Linked DNA regions of Homo sapiens: all the other regions are linked to region 2. Evidence: promoter capture Hi-C in 16 types of primary human blood cells and fetal thymus (Javierre and others, 2016). All regions are on one chromosome and are shown on one strand. The core of a region is centred on a gene start or on the middle of the fragment in contact, and the rest is flanking DNA. Distances in the headings are between cores, read along the strand shown.

Region 1 (4,174 bases), core at 937-3,436, 530 kb before region 2:
TACCTTTTTTCTACACACCTCGACCCCAGGGCTGCAGTTCTGCCTGCCTGAGGTCGGATGCGGTCGGCTGCAGGGCAGGGCTCCGGGCTGAAGCGCAGCGATTCCCGCCGCCGTGAGGGGGCGCTCTGCGGGCCTCGGCCTCGGCCCTTCCGGACGCCCGCACAGGTCGCCGGACCCAGAGAGTCGGCCCTTAATAGCCCCCTCCTGGAAGCGCTAGGTCCCGAAACTGGCCTTCCCCCGGGGCCCATCTCCCGGCTAATGTTTAACCCGGCCACACTCCACATTATCCACACTCAGGAGACCGGGGTGAGGTGAGGGTGGAGGCTGGGGGAGGTCACCTCCAAATCGCCAACTTCCGAGCCTTTGCTCCAGGCAAACGGCCTTCCTACATCCCTTCCAGGTATCAACCTACAGCTCCTGCGCACCTACTATGTGCCCATTTCCACAACAGGTCATGAGCACCTAATATGTGTTCATTAGACCAAAACATGAGCATCCATTACGAGTCCACACCTACTATGTGTGCATTCACCCACAACGTCCTGAGCACCTACTATGTGTGCATTCTCTTAAAATGCAATGAGCATCGATTGTGTGTCCACATAACCCATGAGCACCTGCTATGTGTCCATCTGGGCACCAGCCCATGAGCACCTACTATGTGTGCATTCTCTTAAAATGCAATGAGCATCGATTGTGTGTCCACATAACCCATGAGCACCTGCTATGTGTCCATCTGGGCACCAGCCCAGGAGCACCTACTATGTGCCAAGCCTTGTGCCTGCCATGGATGCCTTGTGATCAAGAGCCACGTGCTTCGGGCTCTGGCGGGGACCGCAGCATCAAATGCACGAATGAAGACGGACTTAAAACCAGCGTCAGATGCCTCACCTCTAGGGGATGCTGATTCTGGGATGCCTTTTTCGTCTCCTAGGCTCCTCAAGGCCAACTGCGCTGGGAAGAGGGGGTGTCCAACAGCAGGAGGGCTGTTTTTTTGAACTACAATTTGCCAGCATACAGCAGAGCAGCAAGAAGATAACAGGGCGGGGGGCACGGGATTAGCCCAAACAAAACACACTCAAGAACGCGAGTCTGTGGTTCAACACGAGGCAGAAAACAGCTGGGCCGGGTGCGGGGCTTCTCCCTCGCGTGTATCCGCTCACTGCACTCGCTGCCCTGGCCGCGGGCGCCGCGCAGGGTGCTGATGTCCAGGAGGGATCTAGACCTCCCGCGGCGCTCGGGCTAGTGGACGCAGGTGGTCCCAAATGCTGGGACCAAGCTAGGAACCAAGCGGAAGCTCGGATTGCTCGGCATCGGGCCTCGTCGTTATTCTACCGTGAGGGAAACTGAGACCGAGGGCACGGCAGGGAGTCGCCCGCCGTCTCACCAGCGTGAGGGGTTGCGCCGGGCCCCGAAAACTGGTTTGCGCCGCCCGGCATCGGGATCCGGGACCTCTGCCCGCCGGGCGCTGCCTGCGCGTTCCTGGAACTGGGCTGGGCGGAGAAATCAGGGCCCGCAGAGAGGCATTCCTGCCGCCTTCCCCGCCGCCCGGGGCCGCAGGGGGGCCTGGCCAAGGTGACCCCGCGGGAGGAGGCGAGGGGTCCCCGCCCGCTCCGCCGCCGCGACCTCCTCCATCTTCCCGGTCTGCGGGGCTTTTCCTCTGGGCCCGCGCGCCCGGCCCCCTCCTCGGGCTTCCCCGAGGGCGGGACGTCTCGGGCTCCCCCGCCCCCCCAGGCCACCTCCCGGCCGTGTCCTAGCGCTGCCCTCGGGCCGGGGGCGGGGCCGCGGGGGGGGGGTGGCGTGAGGATGGGGCCGAGGAGGACGCGCGCGGCTCGGCGCCCCACTTCCCTCCCTCACCCCTCCCTCCCGGTGCCCGCTCCCCGCGGCCGCGCCGCCCTCCCTTCCCCCTCCCTCGGCCCAGCGCCGGCTCCCGCCGCCCCCTCCCCCGACGCGCACGCCCCGCCTGGCAGCTGGCGCCCCGGGCCTGGGGCCGCAGCGGTGAGAGGGGTTTTGCTGGGAGGGAGGGAGCGAGCGAGCGAGGGGAGGGGTGGAGGCCGCCCCCCGCGCCCCTCCTCCTCGCCCTCCTCCGCGGCCGGCGGGCCCTCCTCCCGCCGCCTCCCTCCTCCCTCCTCCCGCCCGCCCGCCCTCCCTCTAAGACATCCCCGCACGGCCCGGCCGCCGCGGCCACCTTCCCTGCCCGAGCTGCAGATGTGGCGGAGCGGCCGGGCGCCGGGCGGCCGTGCCAGGGGAGCCCGCGCCCCGTGAGGCCTCGCGCCCCGGCCCCCGCCCGTCCCGGCCCCTCCCCCGCTCGGCTCCCCGCGCCCCCCGACCGCCGGAGCCCGCAGCCCGGATCCCGACCGCCCCCGCCGCTGAGGTAGGAAGCCCCCCGGGCGTCGCGCCGTGGGGACCGGGCCGGGGCGGGGGGGGGGGGGCCCGCCTGTCGCGCCGGGGCTGCGGGGCCCGAGGGTCTCCTCCCCCGCTCGCGTCCGCGCCCCGGGCCATTGTGAGCCCTCGCCGAGGCCCCCGCGTTCGCTCGCTCGCTGGCTCGCGCGCTCCCTCCCTCGCCGGCTCCCCGGCCGGGTCCCTCGAGCTCTCGGTCTTTCTTCTCCCTCCTTCCTTCCCTCCGTCTGGAGGCCGGGCCGAGCAGCGCCCGGGCCCGGGGCGGGCGCAAACTTCAGCTGGGAAGTTGGGCGGCCGCGGTGGGGGGCGTGCGGCGAGGTGAGAGGGGGGTACCCGGAGCCTGGGCATGAAGTTGTCCGGGGCAGCCGCCCCTCCTCTCGGCCGCGCCGGGGCTGCTGCTAGGAAGGGCTTTGGAAGGTGCCTCCTCCCTTGGCCGGGAGAGTCTCCCTCCTGCTGCCCCTCGCAAGCCCGGGTCCTTCCTTGGACCTCGGGAAGGGGCGTCCCTGGGGGGTCAGGACTGGGAGTTTGGGACAAGTCAGGCACTTGTTACTCCCCTGCGGTCCGGGTGGACGCAGGCGACCGGCCTGGCAGGGAGGAGATGGCAAGGGGTCCATACTCGCCGGAGGGCGGGTCTGGAGCGGGTGGAGGAGGGGGCGAGGCAGGTGCATCCCGAGGGAGGAGAAGCACGCACAGCTTCCCCGCTGGCCCCCTGGGATGGGGCTGGAATCCAGGCTGGCACCTGGAGGCCTTGGCATGCTGCCCTGCCCAGCAGGGTACTCGGGCCACAGCAGGGCAGCGTGCAGCCTGTCTGCCTGTCCAGGAGGGCCCGCCCAGCCTGGCCAGAGGGTGGCCGGGAAGCAATGGTTTCAAGGAGTTGCCCAGCCCTGCCCTGGGGCCTGGGAAGCTGGAAGGGATGCTGGGAGGGGCCCTGGGCCCCCAGCCATCACAGCCCAGGATCTTGGCTCTGGAGGGAACGCTTGACACTGAGGGGGCAGCCAGGCCGGCTGGGGACCTGGCCAAGGCCTGGGCTTGGTCTGGGCCATGGAAAGGGCCTGGGCCATGGTTCTTGGAGGCTGGCACCCTGGGTAGTAGGCCGCCATCCTGCGTGTCCTGGCATCCTGGAGGGAAGGTGGGGCCAGCCTGCGGCTGGGGAGGAAGCCCAGAGACACTGCGCTTCGGAGGGCCTTCCAGCCCCCGGGCTCAGGGGAGGGGAAACTGGCCCCTTGGGTCACCCCTCCCCAAGCCCCATTCTGGTGCCACAGTGCCACAGCTGTCCAGGCCCAGCCCACACACCCATCCCGGGTGACCTCGGACCTCCCCCTCTGCTTCTCCTTCTCCCCAGAGCCCAGGCTGGGCCTCCTAGCTGGCCTGGCCTGCACAGGGGGAGGGGCTGCACCTGGGAGGCCCCTCCCAGGACACCCTTTGCCAAGCTCCAGCCTGGCCCATTTCACTGCCCACCTCCAGCTCAACTTGGCCCTGTCTGCAGCCAGCCAAGCAGGAGACAGTGCCAGGGACTTGGGATGGTGTTTTGGGGGGTGTGCGGACCCCTTGGAAGCAACCCTGTTTTTCTTAGCCTTTCCTCCTCCCCCTCCTTTCCGGAGCTGCCATTAGCGCTGACCCCCTGTGCCTGCCCGCCCTTCCCTGTCTGTGACCTTTGACCTTTGGTGTTAAATCCCTCCAGCTGGGGCTCTTCGGCCCCTGAGTGACCCTGGCCCAGGCCCCCTGGGGAGTTCTCTCCTTGCTCCTGGCTCTCTACACAGGGACACCTGCCAGT
Region 2 (4,475 bases), core at 979-3,478:
TGAGTACTACTCACTGATCTTCTGTTCCAAAAAATTTCACAAAGAAGCATTTCTTTCCGCGAGGTTTCTTCAAGTCCTTTGGTGGATTAACAATCTGGAGGATAAAAGGGGGGAAAAAGGTTGGCTGGCAACACAGCAGCCCACTTTCTAGTGGCTCCACATTGCTCTACAGTTCTACGTTGCTAAGAAAAAAGTAAATTAAAAGGACTTACTTACAAATAAATTTATTTATATACAAAACAGAACCCAAGGCCTAGTACTTGTCTAAATCTCCCATTTTTCTATTGAGGTGTATGGAAATGTGTAGATATTCTAGAAGTTCCCAATATTTAACATGTAGCACAGTGCTCAGTAGACACAATATCCCTTTTACTGCAGTGGCCCTGTTTTACAAGCAGTTAAAACTAAGATCAACAGCATCCCCTGCCCCCCACCACCCCACCCCTGCTCCAATGTGACCCCATTATTACTGAAAAAATGCAGACGACACTCTTTGAAATACTTCCTGTGCAGGAAGGGTTGACACAGGACATAGTGAAAACAAAGGACAACCGAGGCACAGAAAACACCATATTGCAAAGAGACCATCTAAAGACACCTCCCGGGCTCCAAGCAAGAATATAAAAACACAACATTTGGAAAGCAATGATGGATCACCTCATGCAAAATCTGGAATGCCAACTTCTGCAAAGAGGCACTGGAGTAGCACATATGGTAACATGGAAAGAAGATTTAAACTTAGTTGGGACAAAAATACTTTGGCTTTTCACTAACCTACATTTAGACTTTCTTCCTGGATAATTTATATTTTCTTCTCCTTTTGTTACATTTAAGCATAAAGCTAAATTCAGACTAGAATTATTTCCGGGGTTAAAAAAGAAACTTCATAAACCTCCTCTAAATCCAGAAATAAGGGTTTAGAGAAGATTTAATGATCTGGTGTATACTGCATTGCCTTTTAAAAAATAACCGATACTAGGGGAAAAAAAATTCTAAGTGCCATCTGAATGAGCCCAATTTAACTCAATACTAGAAACTGAGAGGAATGCATCTTACATTCTCCACCTCTTCAAACCCAACTTCAGATCTCTTCCTTTAGTAGCAAGACACTCACCTTTCCTGGCCAAGGAGGATATCGGCCGAGTTTCCCCCTAGAGAAAACACAAAGAGTCAACACTTGCCCTGCAAAAGCCAGTCCATCTCCTTCAACCCACTCAATACGCAATTTATTTTCCTAAATCTCTGCTGGCATCCTCAAATGCCGAAACAAAAGCTTTCATAGCTGGGCCCAACACCCTCAGAAGTAAAATGCAAAATTGTATACTTATGTGCACAACGCATATCCATTCTTCTGTTGACAAGGAATACAGAACAACACAACTGTCAAAAGTCACTTGTCTAGAGCTTCTTAATGACGGGGGTGGGAGGACAGCTTCCTCTGTAAACACAGACTTTCCCTCCCTAAGTCTGGTTTAATTCAACAGGAGACCTGCCTGGCTTTGACAAATGCTAATGGAAGCCTTCCTCTGGGTGGAGAAACAAGCTACGCAGCTCGAGGGAGGCGGCGACAAAGTCTTGGTTCGGGCGGTTGTCTGGGACACAGAAGCAGACCGCGGGAGGCACCCAAGCGTGCACTGGTCACTGCCAAGCCATCGGTTGTAAAGGAGAAGTCCCCCCGCCGTTTCTTCGCGGGGCAACGCCAGCAGTCCGGTTTAGACAACCCCGGCTGAGCCGGCCGCACAGGTCGGCTGCATCGCAACCTGGGCTTTGACCGAATGGCACCGGCCAGATCTCGCAGGTCCGGTCCCCGGCGCTTCTGCTTTCTGGGAAGCCCCAACAAGACCCCGGGGACCGGTCGTCCGGGGAAGCCTCGCGGCACCGGCGGCTCCCTTCACGGGGGCCGCCAGTATCTGGGCCCCGAGTGCAGACCCCACCCGGCCGGCCTCGGGGATCAAAGCCGGTGCCCGACGTGGCCACCCTCGGCCTCGGTCCCCCGGGACTGGACTGCCCCTTCCGCCTGGCGCCGCTCGCAAGCGCCGGCACCTTCTCTTCCCCTCTCTCCGCGACCTGGAGCGCATAAAAAGGCAGCTCCAGGGCCGGCAGCGAACCCCGCGCCCAGGCGGGTAGCTCCCCGGCGCGTCTCGGTTGGCCCGGCCGCTCGGACTCACCACACCAAGTCGCCGAGCCGCAGACTCACAGCCGCCATCTTACCACCCAACCACCGCCGACGCACGGGCCGCCGGGAACAGCAAGTCGCCCCGGCGCCGCCCATTGGAGTGGGCCCGACCACGTGACGGGGGCCGGCTGTCACTGGCCACGCCGCTACTCTGACGTCACCGCGCCCGCCGGGGATCATTGGTCGACCGAGGGGCACGTGACGCGAGCGCCGCGGTCTCCGCGCGCCGGAGCGCAGAGACTCCCGGCTCCTTCCCCCTCCCTTCGGCTCGTGACAACGAAGCGCCCGCGGTCTGAGGCGGCGGCGGCGGCGACGGTGCGACCGGCTGAGCGCGAGAGGGAGCCGGCCTCGCGGCTCGCCCCGCCCCCGGGTCTTGGACTCCGCGCCCCTCCCCTCTCGGCGCTTCCGTTACGCCCGTTGGTCCGGCGCGGGCCCCGGGGCCATTCCCGAGCCCGAGGCGCTGGTCGGCCCCGTCGCAGCGCCAGTGAGCTACCCTGACGGAGCTCGGCGCGGCCTGGAACTCAGCCTCCGCCGGGTCTGGGCTCCCGCGCCCGGCAACTCTGCTTGGCCGCAGGCCGGGAGGCCCCGGTGTCCGCGCCCGTCCGCTCCCGCCGCCCGTGTTCTTTGGAGCGCTCCTCCCGACGGCCGCTTTCGGAGGCGCCGTCTGAGCGCGGGGTCCCGCGCCGCAAGTTCTCCTGGGGCGACCGGAGGCTGCTCCCCCGACCCCCTGGTGTCCCCGGAGTGGCTGCGCGGACGTCGAGTTGGCATTTCTTCGCTTCCTCCTGGGCCGGCGCGCGGCGCGGCACACCAGGCTCCCCTGGGCTCGGGGACCCGGCCATGGGCCGAGGCGCGGGCCGCCCGCCCGCTGGGAGCCACGGCTTAGCAGCCGACCGCTAGCTGCGCCGCCGCCCGGGGACCGGCATGAGGACCGCCGCGGGGGGACGTCTGCGGCCCGCGTCGGCGCTGGGGACAAAGGTGCGTGTCGTTGTCGGGTCCGGGCTCTCTCGTTAGCCTTGCCCTAGTTTTGCACTTTTGAAAAAGTTGTGACAACAGGAAGACAGATGCCGGGCGTAGTTTGGACACTTTAAAACTGAACCATGAACTGGGAAGTGTTAACTGCAGTTGAGCGCAGCGTCGGCCCAAACTTCAGCAGACCAGGTAGAATCACAATTTTGCAAAAGATCCCAGTCCCGATCACAGACTCCACAGTGTTAAGGATTGACTTAGACTTGGTGTCGGGCTCTTGTTGAGTCACTGCCAGCTGGCAAAGGTGGCGAGTCGACACGCATTTCCCCAAGGCATTGTGGTGGTTAGAGATTTCGGTTGCAAGTCGGTGTTTAGCGTACTGGGTCGTCCCGCAGCCTGATTTTTCTTGGGAGATCAGTTTCCCTGAAGTACCAAGAATTAGCTGCACGGACTGTCATTTACTGCGTGTGTATTTTTAAGACAAAGTGATCTTTAAAGCGTATTTAAGATTCCAGGGAATAATTTGATAAAAATTTAACATAAGTTCCTGTTTAAAAATTCTGAATTTGTGAGGAATTGAATGAGATTTTAATAACTTAAATAAAAACATGAATCTTGGCCGGGCAGGGTGGTATAAGCCTGTAATCCCAGCATTTTGGGATGCCGAGGCGGGTGGACCACCTGAGATCAGGAGTTCGAGACCAGCCTGGCCAACACGGTCAAACCCAGTACTCTACTAAAAATACAAAATTAGCCGGGCGTGGTGGCGCATGCCTGTAGTCCCAGCTACTTGGGAGGCTGAGGCAGGAGAATCGCTTAACCCGGGAAGCGGAGGTTGCCGTGAGCCGAGATTATGTCACTGCACTCCAGCTAGGCGACAGAGCGAGCGAGACTCGTCCCCCCGCCAAAAAGAAAAAAGAAAAAAAAATCTCAAATGAACATTGCACCAAAACCTAGAGGCATTCCCCTTAACATCAGAAACATGGTACATTTCTACCACTATTAGATAATAAGAATATATTGCCTAAAACCTGAAAGTTCTAGCCAGTGCAGTAAGACAGGAAACAAAAATAAGAAATGCAATTTTTGGAAAAGGGAAGACAGAATTCTCATTTCCGTGGATGATAGGTCTGCCTATTTTGAAAACAAAAACAAAAACCAAAAAACCCATTAAAATAAGAATTCAGGAAGGGTACTCATTATAAGTTGGAATGCACAATTTAGTTTTTCTGTTTCATCAATAACCAGTTTGAAAATACAATGTTTAGAAGGAGATATATATATATATAGTAAGAAAAAATTAAAAATTGCTGAGGATAACCAAGGGACAAGG
Region 3 (4,340 bases), core at 1,665-4,164, 550 kb before region 2:
CAGGCTAGAGTGTAATGGTGCGATCTTGGCTCACTGCAACCGCAGCCTTCCAGGCTCAAGCAATTCTCCCACCTCAGCTTCCCGAGTAGCTGGGATTATAGGCACCAGCCATCATGCCCTGCTAATTTTTGTATTTTTGTAGAGACAGAGTTTAACTATGTTGGCCAGGCTGGTCTTGAAGTCCTGACCTCAGGTGATCTGCCCGCCTCGGCCTCCCTAAGTGCTGGGATTACAGGCGTGAGCCGCCGCGCCCCACCTGCACTCCTAGTTTCATCCTCACCATGGTGCCCTGAGTCCTATGATCACGCCCAAGGGGCTTGGCCAAGCCCATCACAGCCAGCCACTACCAGGGCCTGCACTTCTTTCAGGCTCCTCCAGATCCCCCCGTGGCTGCCCTGGAGAATGGCTTCCTGTTGGCCTCAAAACTCAAGAGCTTACCTGGTCCTGGTGGCTCAACCGTGGCCAGGTAAATCCGGGTACAAGAGGAGGGTCCCGCTGGGCATGACAAGGCATACGGAGGGAGAAAACATGGCCATGCATGAAACGACAAGGTCAGCTACCAGGTGAAATGTAGCCCCTTCCTGTGGGCTGATGGTCAGAGCCAGACTGTCAGAGGAAGGAGCAACTCGTAGGGGTCAGAAAGGGTTTTGGCTTCAAGTCTGTGCAGACAAGGAAGAAGCAAGCGCAGTAAGCACTGTGGAGTGGGGACCGGGGGCAGCAAAGGGACCGGCTCTGGGATTGCTCTCTCCTCCCTCAAGCCCGCCAGAGCTTGAGCCCCTGGTGCCCCTTTCCTGCTGTGCAGCTGCGGCCGCCAGCGCATCAGGGGTTAATGTCTGGCTGGTGCCGGCTTCAGCAGCAGCAGCAGCAACAGCAGCAACAGACAGTGGTGCCAGTAACTCAGAGGCTGAAATGTGAGAAGCAAGACGAGAGGGGCAGGGCTGGGAAAGGCTGAGCAGCAGCGAGCAGAGAGGGTTTCCCTGGCAGGAGCCACAGGAGGCTGCCTGGTCCTCCCTTCCATGGCCCTGCCGTACAGCTGGCCCTCCAGCCTCGGGCTGGGGTATGGCACCCTCTCAGGGTGGTGGGGGTGTCCATGGTCATGGCCAGCGTCCAAGCCCTTAGGCCACCGGGAAGCAGTTCCCTACTGCAGATCTAGGGAAGGGGCACAGGCGCCCAGGCAACCAGCAGAGAAGGCACCCGGCTCTGCCCGGCTCTGCAGGAAGCTCTAGGTGGGGAGATGGGGCAGTGGCAGAGTGGGGCCTGGAGAACCGAGGAGGAGGACAGGGAGATCCCTCGGGGTGTCCCAACCGCAGAGGCCTGGCCTCGACTTCACCCTTCCCCACCTTGGGAAAGCTGAGGCACAGGAAGCTTCCCTGATAAATGGATAAATGAGCCTCCTGCTGCTTGGGGGCAGGGAATGTCGCAGGGCTGCTGCCCCCTCCACGGGCCTGGGTGTCCGCCTGCCTTTGCACAGGCACCTCAGGGATGCATAAGCACCAACCAGAGAGGTGAGAGGTACCAGGCACAGCGCGAGTGCCTTATCCATACTCTTTTTTTTTTTTTAATAAAAAAAATAGGCCGGGCGCAGTGGCTCACACCTGTAATCCCAGCACTTTGGGAGGCCAAGGCAAGCGGATCACCTGAGGTCAGGAGTCGGACACCAGCCCGGCCAATACGGTGAAACCCTGTCTCTACTAAAAATACAAAAATTAGCTGGGCGTGGTGATGCACGCCTGTAGTCCCAGCTACGCGGGAGGCTGAGGCAGAAGAATCGTTTGAACCTGGGAGGTGGAGGTTGCAGTGAGCTGAGATCATGCCACTGCACTCCAAAATGGGTGACAGAGCAGGACTCTGTCTCAAAAAAAAAAAAAAAAAAAAAAGCTGGGCACGGTGGCTCATGCCTGTAATCACAGCACTTTGGGAGGCCAAGGCAGGCGGGTTGCTTGAGGCCAGGAGTTGGAGAGCAGCCTGGGCAATATGGTGAAACCCCATCTCTACTCAAAATACAAAAATCAGCTGGGGGTGGTGGTGGGCGCCCGTAATCCTAGCTAGTTGGGAGACTGAGGCAGGAGAATCACTTGAACCCAGGAGGCAGAGGTTGCAGTGAGATGAGATTGTGCCATTGCACTTCAGCCTGGGGGACAGAGGGAGACTCTGTCTCAAAAATAGATAGATTAGATAGATAGATAGACAGACAGACAGACAGACAGATAAAGGCCGGGTGTGGTGGCTCATGCCGCCCTGTAATCCCAGCATTTTGGGAGGCTGAGGCGGGCCGATCACTTGAAGTCAGGAGTTTAAGACCAGCCTGGCCAACATGACGAAACTCCATCTCTACTAAAAACGAGCAAAAATAGCCGGGCGTGGTGGTCCACGCCTGTAATCCCAGCTACTCCAGAGGCTGAGGCACAAGTATCGCTTGAACTTGGGAGGCAGAGCTTGCAATGAGCAGAGATTTCACCATTGCACTCCAGCCTGAGCGACAGAGCGAGACTGTGTCTCAAAAATAAAAAGGAACAAGGTGCTGATCTATGCTACAATATAGACGAACCTTGAAACATTAAGTGAAAAGCCAATCACAAGAGACCACCACTTTATTTGAAATGCCCAGAATAGGGAAATCCATAGAGGCAGAAAACAGGCTGGTGCGTTGCCAGGGCCTGGGAGGAAAGAGGAATGGGGAGTGGCTGCTTCTTGAGTATAGGGTTTCTTTTTGGGATGGTGAAAATGTTCTGAAATTAGATGTTGATGATGGTTGCACGACTCTGAATACACTAAAAACCACTGATTGTACACTTCAAAGAGGTGAATTTTACGGTATGTGAATTATATCTTATTTTTATTTTTTAATCTTTTTTTGAGATGGAGTCTCACTCTGTCACCCAGGCTGGAGTACAGTGGTGCGATCTCAGCTCACTGCAACCTCCACCTCCCTGGTTCAAGCGATTCTCCTGGCTCAGCCTCCCGAGTAGCTGAAACTACAGGCACCCACCACCACACCCGGCTAATTTTTTTAGTAGAGATGGGGTCTGGGGTTTCACCGTGTTAGCCAGGATGGTCTCGATCTCCTCAACTCATGATCCGCCCGCCTTGGCCTCCCAAAGTGCTAGGATTACAGGCGTGAGCCACTGTGCCCGGCCAAATTTTTGTATTTTTAGTAGAGACGGGGTTCACCATGTTGGCCAGGTTGGTCTCGAACTCCTGACCTCAGGTGATCTGCCGGTCTCAGCCTCCCAAAGTGCCGGGATTACAAGCATGAGCCACTGCTCCCAGCTTGATTTTATTTTTTATTTTTATTATTATTAACTAATTTATTTATTTTAGACAGAGTCTCTCTCTGTCACCCAGGCTGGAGTGCAGTGGCGCGAACTTGGCTCACTGCAAGCTCTGCCTCCTGGGTTCACGCCATTCTCCTGCCTCAGCCTCTGGAGTAGCTGGGACTACAGGCGCCCGCCACCACACCTGGCTAATTTTTTGTATTTTTAGTAGAGATGGGGTTTCACTGTGTTAGCCAGGATGCTCTCGATCTCCTAACCTTGTGATTTGCCTGCCTCGGCCTCCCAAAGTGCTGGGATTACAGGCGTGAGCGACTGCGCCCGGCCTATTTTTATTTTTTGAGACAGAGTCTCACTCTTGTCACCCAGGCTGGAGTGCAATGGCGCAATTTCGGCTCACTGCAACCTCTGCCTCCCAGGTTTAAGCAGTTCTCCTGTCTCAGCCTCCCGAGTGGTTGGGATTACAGGCACGCACCACCATGCCAAGCTAATTTTTATATTTTTAGTAGAGATGGGGTTTCGTCATGTTGGCCAGGCTGGTCTCAAACTCCTGACCTCAGGTAATCCACCCACCTTGGCCTCCCAAAGTGCTGGGATTACAGGTGTGAGTCACCCTTCTGACCCACTCCCAGGTTCCAGGAACAAGAATACAGGTCCTCTAATGGACAAAGCTCATTCAGGGACCCTCCAATGTGAATCGACCAGACACAGTCCTCATGTGTCATGGGAGGGGGACAGGCAGCAGCTCCTGGAGCGGAAGGACGCCTGGCCCCTCCTCCGGCCCCAGATGCAGCTGCAGGTACAGGGAGGGCCTCCCAGGGCAGGCCAGAGCCTGCAGGCCCCCAGCTGCAGCCCCAGCTGGGACCAGGCTTCTAACCTCACCCCTTTCTTGCTCCTCCCGCCTCCACCATCTCTCCTGTGGAGCCCCCAAGACTCTGGAGGAGAAATCAAATACAAAACTCCTAGGAGAACAGAAAGGGGGCTGCTGCTGCTGCGTGCAGACACACTCATGCACACCCACGCACACACATGCAAACACACACATGCACACCATCCTTCGAGCCCACA
Region 4 (4,217 bases), core at 223-2,722, 570 kb before region 2:
TGGCTGTGTGTGGTCCTTGAGTCCATCACCCTTTGGGTTTAGAGCAACCTAGGACCAAAGCTTGCAAAGTGGCTTCTGGGGAGGCCTGCGGACCTCGGGCCACCCACCCGGCTGGGGGACCCGACGCTTTCGGTTTACGGCAGGGGGGAGGGGCGTTGGATGGGAAAGTTTGCAGAGGAAACCCACGTGCGGCGGGAAGCTGCCCTGCGAGGCTAGGGGCGGCCTCAGGTGTCCCTTCCCCAAATGGCCTGCCCACCTGGCCTGCCTTGCCCATCGTGCCCGCGGGGGCCGAGCTTTGTGCAGGGAAAGCGTGGCCCAGGAGCGCCTACAAATCCCACAATGCTGCACCAGCAGGACACGGAGAACTACAGCTCCCGCGAGGCCGCGCGCAGAGGTCCGCCTACTCCAAGAGGGCTGCAGAGTCACGTCCAGGCCTCGCTAGTAAACAGCGCCCGGGCGCGGGCGGGCGAGCGAGCGGCAGCCAACGTGCCCCGGGCCGCGGCGCCCCTACCGGCCGCGCGGGCCCCTCGGGGTCCGCCCACCCCCAACACCCACACGCGAGCACGCCCCCGACCCCGCTGCAGCCCCGCTCTGCAAACACGCACAGTGCCCGGCTCCCCGCCCCCACCCCGCGCCGGGAGCCGCGGCATGGCTGCATTGTAGCCGCCCTAGCTACACCCCCACGCGCGCCCCGGGCCCCCAGACCCCCTTGGATGGGGACGACCTCAGATCCCGAGGAAGGAAGGAGAGGAAGGAAGCCGCCGCAGGAGGGGGAAAGAGGAAGCGCGGGGGGGAAGGCCACCAGCACCAAGCATGGCCGGGACTGCTGCAGAACCACGTGGGTCTGTTTGCAATTTACAAACGTCGCGACTCGCCCGCCTGCAGCGGACAAAAGTGGCCGGGGCCGCTTGGGGCCCCCATGCTCCAAGGAAGGAGGGTCCCGGGGCGGCGCGGACCCGGCGTGTGGGGCTGCAGCCGTCCCGGCAGCTAAGAAAGGCTAGCGGGGTCGGCGGCGCGGGCCATGCGTGCGCACACGCGCGCCCGCCCGGGCGGGCTGGCCGGGGGCTGCAGTGGTAGGAAGGGGGTGGGGGGAGGAGGAGTACACACCTACAGAGCCCTCCTATCACTTCTTTCTCTGTTTTCCTGAAATGTTGCAAAGAGGGCACCTTCTGAGTGGGCACCATGAAATACTCCATAGCGATCGGCCCCCCTCCTCTGCACGAGCCAGGTCCCGCGATCAGCCGGAGAATGCAAGATGGAAATCCGAATCAAAGGGCAGCGCCGGACGGAGGTGCAGAATCGGCCGGTCCCAGATGCTGGCGGCGGCGGCGGCGGCGAGGGGAGGGAGGCGGGCGGGAGGGGCGGGAGGGAGGTCTCTCCGGCCTGCCTCCCCGGGCGTGTGTATGTGTGTGTGTGTGTGTGTGTGTGTGTGTGTGTGTGTGTGTGTGTGTGTTTGCAGCTGATCAGATGTCTGTTTCAAGGCGGGAAACAGCTGGTGAAAACTCAGCACTCCCCCGGCCTCCTTCCGCGGAGTAAGGAATTGCATGTAAACAAAGGACTATTTGCAGCGCCCCCCGGGCGGCGCGAGGCCGGGGCGAGAGGGGCGCGGGCCCCCGGGGACCGGCTGCAACCGGGGTCTGCAGGCCTCTCGCGGGGCGCAGGGGGCCGGGGGCCGCGGGCGGGCTTGCGGGGCGCGGCGTGAATGGAGCGAGCTGCGGCCGAGCTACATGCGCCACTATGGGTGATGAGGTCCATCAGCTGACAGGTTGGCAAGCGTTGCAAAAAAAAAAAAAAAAAGGCCAGCCACCGCGCAGGGAGCCCAGCCCGTGCAGCCCGGAGTCCAGCAGCGACTGGCCCAGAGCAGGGTCCGCGCGCTCGGCCGGCCCGCAGGGAGGAGGGGGCGCGGCTGGGTCGGGCGTGCAGCGGCAGCAAGGAAGGCGGCCTGGGGTTCGCGCTTGGGGCTTCTGCTTTTTCACCATTGCAGCTGCACGGAGCGGAGCCTCTCCGGTGTGCTCCCTTCGAGCCGAGCCCAGGGCCCCCTGGAAACTTGCGTCACAGCCACCGCTTCCCACATGTAACTCGGGGCTGACTTCGGAGGCCGGCCAGCTTCCTCCCTCCCGCCTTGCTTAGCTGGCCGCACGGCCGGGACTCCGGATCCTGGGAATCTTGGACCCGGCGACGGGACGGCAAAGGGCGCCTCGGATGCTGGGGCCGCCCTAGGAAGCCGGGGGCCCCGGCAGGGAGGGGAGGGTGGAGGCGGGCCTGAACGGCAGCGGCCCCCGGGCGCAGGCTGCCAGCGCTGCGGGGAGGTCTGCTGGTTGCTGCCGGGTCCCCTGCTATTCCCCCAGACCCGCACTGTTCCCTCCGCGGGCTGAAGGCTGCAGCTTCCCATTCATAACAAAGCCCGTGTGGGACTTGCCCCTCCGCCAGGATGCGCTCCCCAAGAGGGGGTGACGACTTGGGGCAGGGACGGGGACCCTGGCGGCGAGCTTCCGTCCTCCGCTCGCACGCCGCACCTTCCGGCCCCAGGCCCTCCCCTGGCTCCTGGAGGGTTGGCTCCTGGCTCAGGAAGCCCACGCCTGCCTTGGAATGTCCTGGATCCTGCCCACCGCCTTCCAGGTTCCGCCTAAATCGCGCCTCCTAATTTGACTTATTCCTACTAGTAACAATAGTTACTGTTATTATTGGGAAATATTGTTATTAGATGTTGCCAGCACCCGGTGGATGCCGAGCAGTTTTGCTTACACGCTCTCCAATCCTTGAAGCAACCTGTTAGGCAGTTTCTCTAAGGAGAGATCCCAGACCACTTGACCAAAAAAAAGTCTCTGGAAGGCTTACTATGTTTCTACTTAAAAAAAAAAAAAAAAAAAAAAAACTTTCGGCTGGGCGCGTTGGCTCACGCCTGTAATCTCAGCACTTTGGGAGGCTGAGGCGGGTGGATCACCTGAGGTCGGGAGTTCGAGACCAGCCTGACCAACATGGAGAAACCCCGTCTCTACTAAAAATGCAAAATTAGCCGGGGGCCTGGTGGCACATGCCTGTAATCTCAGCTACTCGGGAGGCTGAAGCAGGAGAATCGCTTGAACCCGGGAGGTGGAGGTTGCAGTGAGCCAAGATCATGTCATTGCACTCCAGCCTGGGCAACAAGAGTGAAACTCCGTCTCAAAAAAAAAAAAAAAAAAAAACCTTTTTACTGTTTTTCAACAAATAGAGATAGGAGTCTCACTGTGTTGCCCAGCCTGGTCTTGAACTCCTGGGACTCAAGGAATCCTACCTCTACCTCCCAAATTGCTGGGATTACAAGCATGAGCCATGGATGGCCCTGGTGGGAAGCCTATTTTTAACTGCCCTTAGTGAGCAAGCTATTCTTTTTTTTGTTTTGTTTTGTTTTGTTTTTTAAGACGGAGTCTTGCTTTGTCACCCAGGCTAGAGTGCAGTGGCACGATCTCGGCTCACTGCAACCTCCGCCTCCTGGGTTCAAGTGATTCTTCTGCCTCAGCCTCCCAAGTAGCTGTGGTTACAGGCACACACCACCAAGCCCGGCTAATTTTTGTATTTTTAGTACAGATGGGATTTTGCCCTGTTGGCCAGGCTGGTCTCAAACTCCTGACCTCAGGCGATCTGCCCACCCCGGTCCCCCAAAGTGCCAGGATTACAGGCATCAGCCACCTCACCCAGCAGTGAGCAAGCTATTCTGGTGCATTACTGTCTCCTTATCCTCTCATTTTGCACATGGGAAGACAGAAGCTCACAGCTGCAGACAAGAATGCACTCAGGAGTGCTGGCTGCAAAAAGCCCTGGTTCTTTATATCACACTCATCCTCCCACCTGCCACACCTCACCTCTGATCAGGGCCTTATTTTGTACTTGCTTTTGTTATTTTCCAGAGCAAAGCATTCTGTCATACTTAGTTATATGTGGCCTTCAGAGTGTTCTCTGGCTGTCTCCCTGGTTCAATTTTTTTTTTTTTTTTTGAGACGGAGTCTCACACTGTCGCCCAGGCTGGAGTGCAGTGGCGCGATCTCGGCTCACTGGAACCTCTACCTCCCAGGTTTAAGCGATTCTCCTGTTCTCCTGCCTCAGCCTCCCAAGTAGCTGAGATTACAGGCGCCTGCCACCAGGCCTGGCTAATTTTTGTGTATTTTTAGTAGAGACGAGGTTTCACTATGTTGGCCAGGCTGGTCTCGAACTCCTGACCTCGTAATCCACCTGCCTCC

What was found. Contacts are between HindIII fragments. The CHiCAGO score rates a contact against its expected background, and 5 or more counts as called.
Region 1: a contact is called between the fragment with the promoter of GLIS2 here and the fragment with the promoter of GLYR1 in region 2, in 2 of 17 cell types (total B cells and neutrophils). The highest score is 6.5, in total B cells.
Region 3: a fragment that was not itself captured here is called in contact with the fragment with the promoter of GLYR1 in region 2 in 1 of 17 cell types (neutrophils); the score reaches 5.3 in neutrophils.
Region 4: the fragment with the promoter of TFAP4 here is called in contact with the fragment with the promoter of GLYR1 in region 2 in 6 of 17 cell types (fetal thymus, naive CD8 T cells, naive B cells and 3 more); the score reaches 9.2 in fetal thymus.

Annotation. Positions count from the first base shown.
Region 1 is chr16:4,313,881-4,318,054 of GRCh38, forward strand. GLIS2 (GLIS family zinc finger 2) reads left to right here and starts at 2,187. Exons shown (of 7, transcript NM_032575.3): 1 at 2,187-2,374. RefSeq lists enhancers at 302-814, 815-1,327, 3,449-4,099, 4,100-4,174 and a silencer at 728-1,022. The HindIII fragment of the contact is 6,668 bases long and covers 1-4,174 here.
Region 2 is chr16:4,845,060-4,849,534 of GRCh38, forward strand. It overlaps GLYR1 (glyoxylate reductase 1 homolog), which reads right to left and starts at 2,229. Exons shown (of 16, transcript NM_032569.4): 1 at 2,169-2,229; 2 at 1,115-1,151; 3 at 15-94. The coding sequence starts at 2,206. It overlaps UBN1 (ubinuclein 1), which reads left to right and starts at 2,422. Exons shown (of 18, transcript NM_001079514.3): 1 at 2,422-3,151. RefSeq lists enhancers at 1,673-1,732, 2,033-2,092, 2,388-3,230 and silencers at 2,283-3,002, 3,013-3,102. The HindIII fragment of the contact is 6,120 bases long and covers 1,272-4,475 here.
Region 3 is chr16:4,293,123-4,297,462 of GRCh38, forward strand. No RefSeq gene overlaps it. Among named protein-coding and RNA genes, the nearest start is that of GLIS2, 21 kb to the right of the region's middle. RefSeq lists enhancers at 1,314-1,973, 3,613-4,340. The HindIII fragment of the contact is 3,103 bases long and covers 1,364-4,340 here.
Region 4 is chr16:4,271,551-4,275,767 of GRCh38, forward strand. TFAP4 (transcription factor AP-4) reads right to left here and starts at 1,473. Exons shown (of 7, transcript NM_003223.3): 1 at 1,108-1,473. The coding sequence starts at 1,196. RefSeq lists enhancers at 1-666, 208-397, 1,298-1,347, 1,644-2,619 and silencers at 478-637, 998-1,047, 1,768-2,417. The HindIII fragment of the contact is 8,835 bases long and covers 59-4,217 here.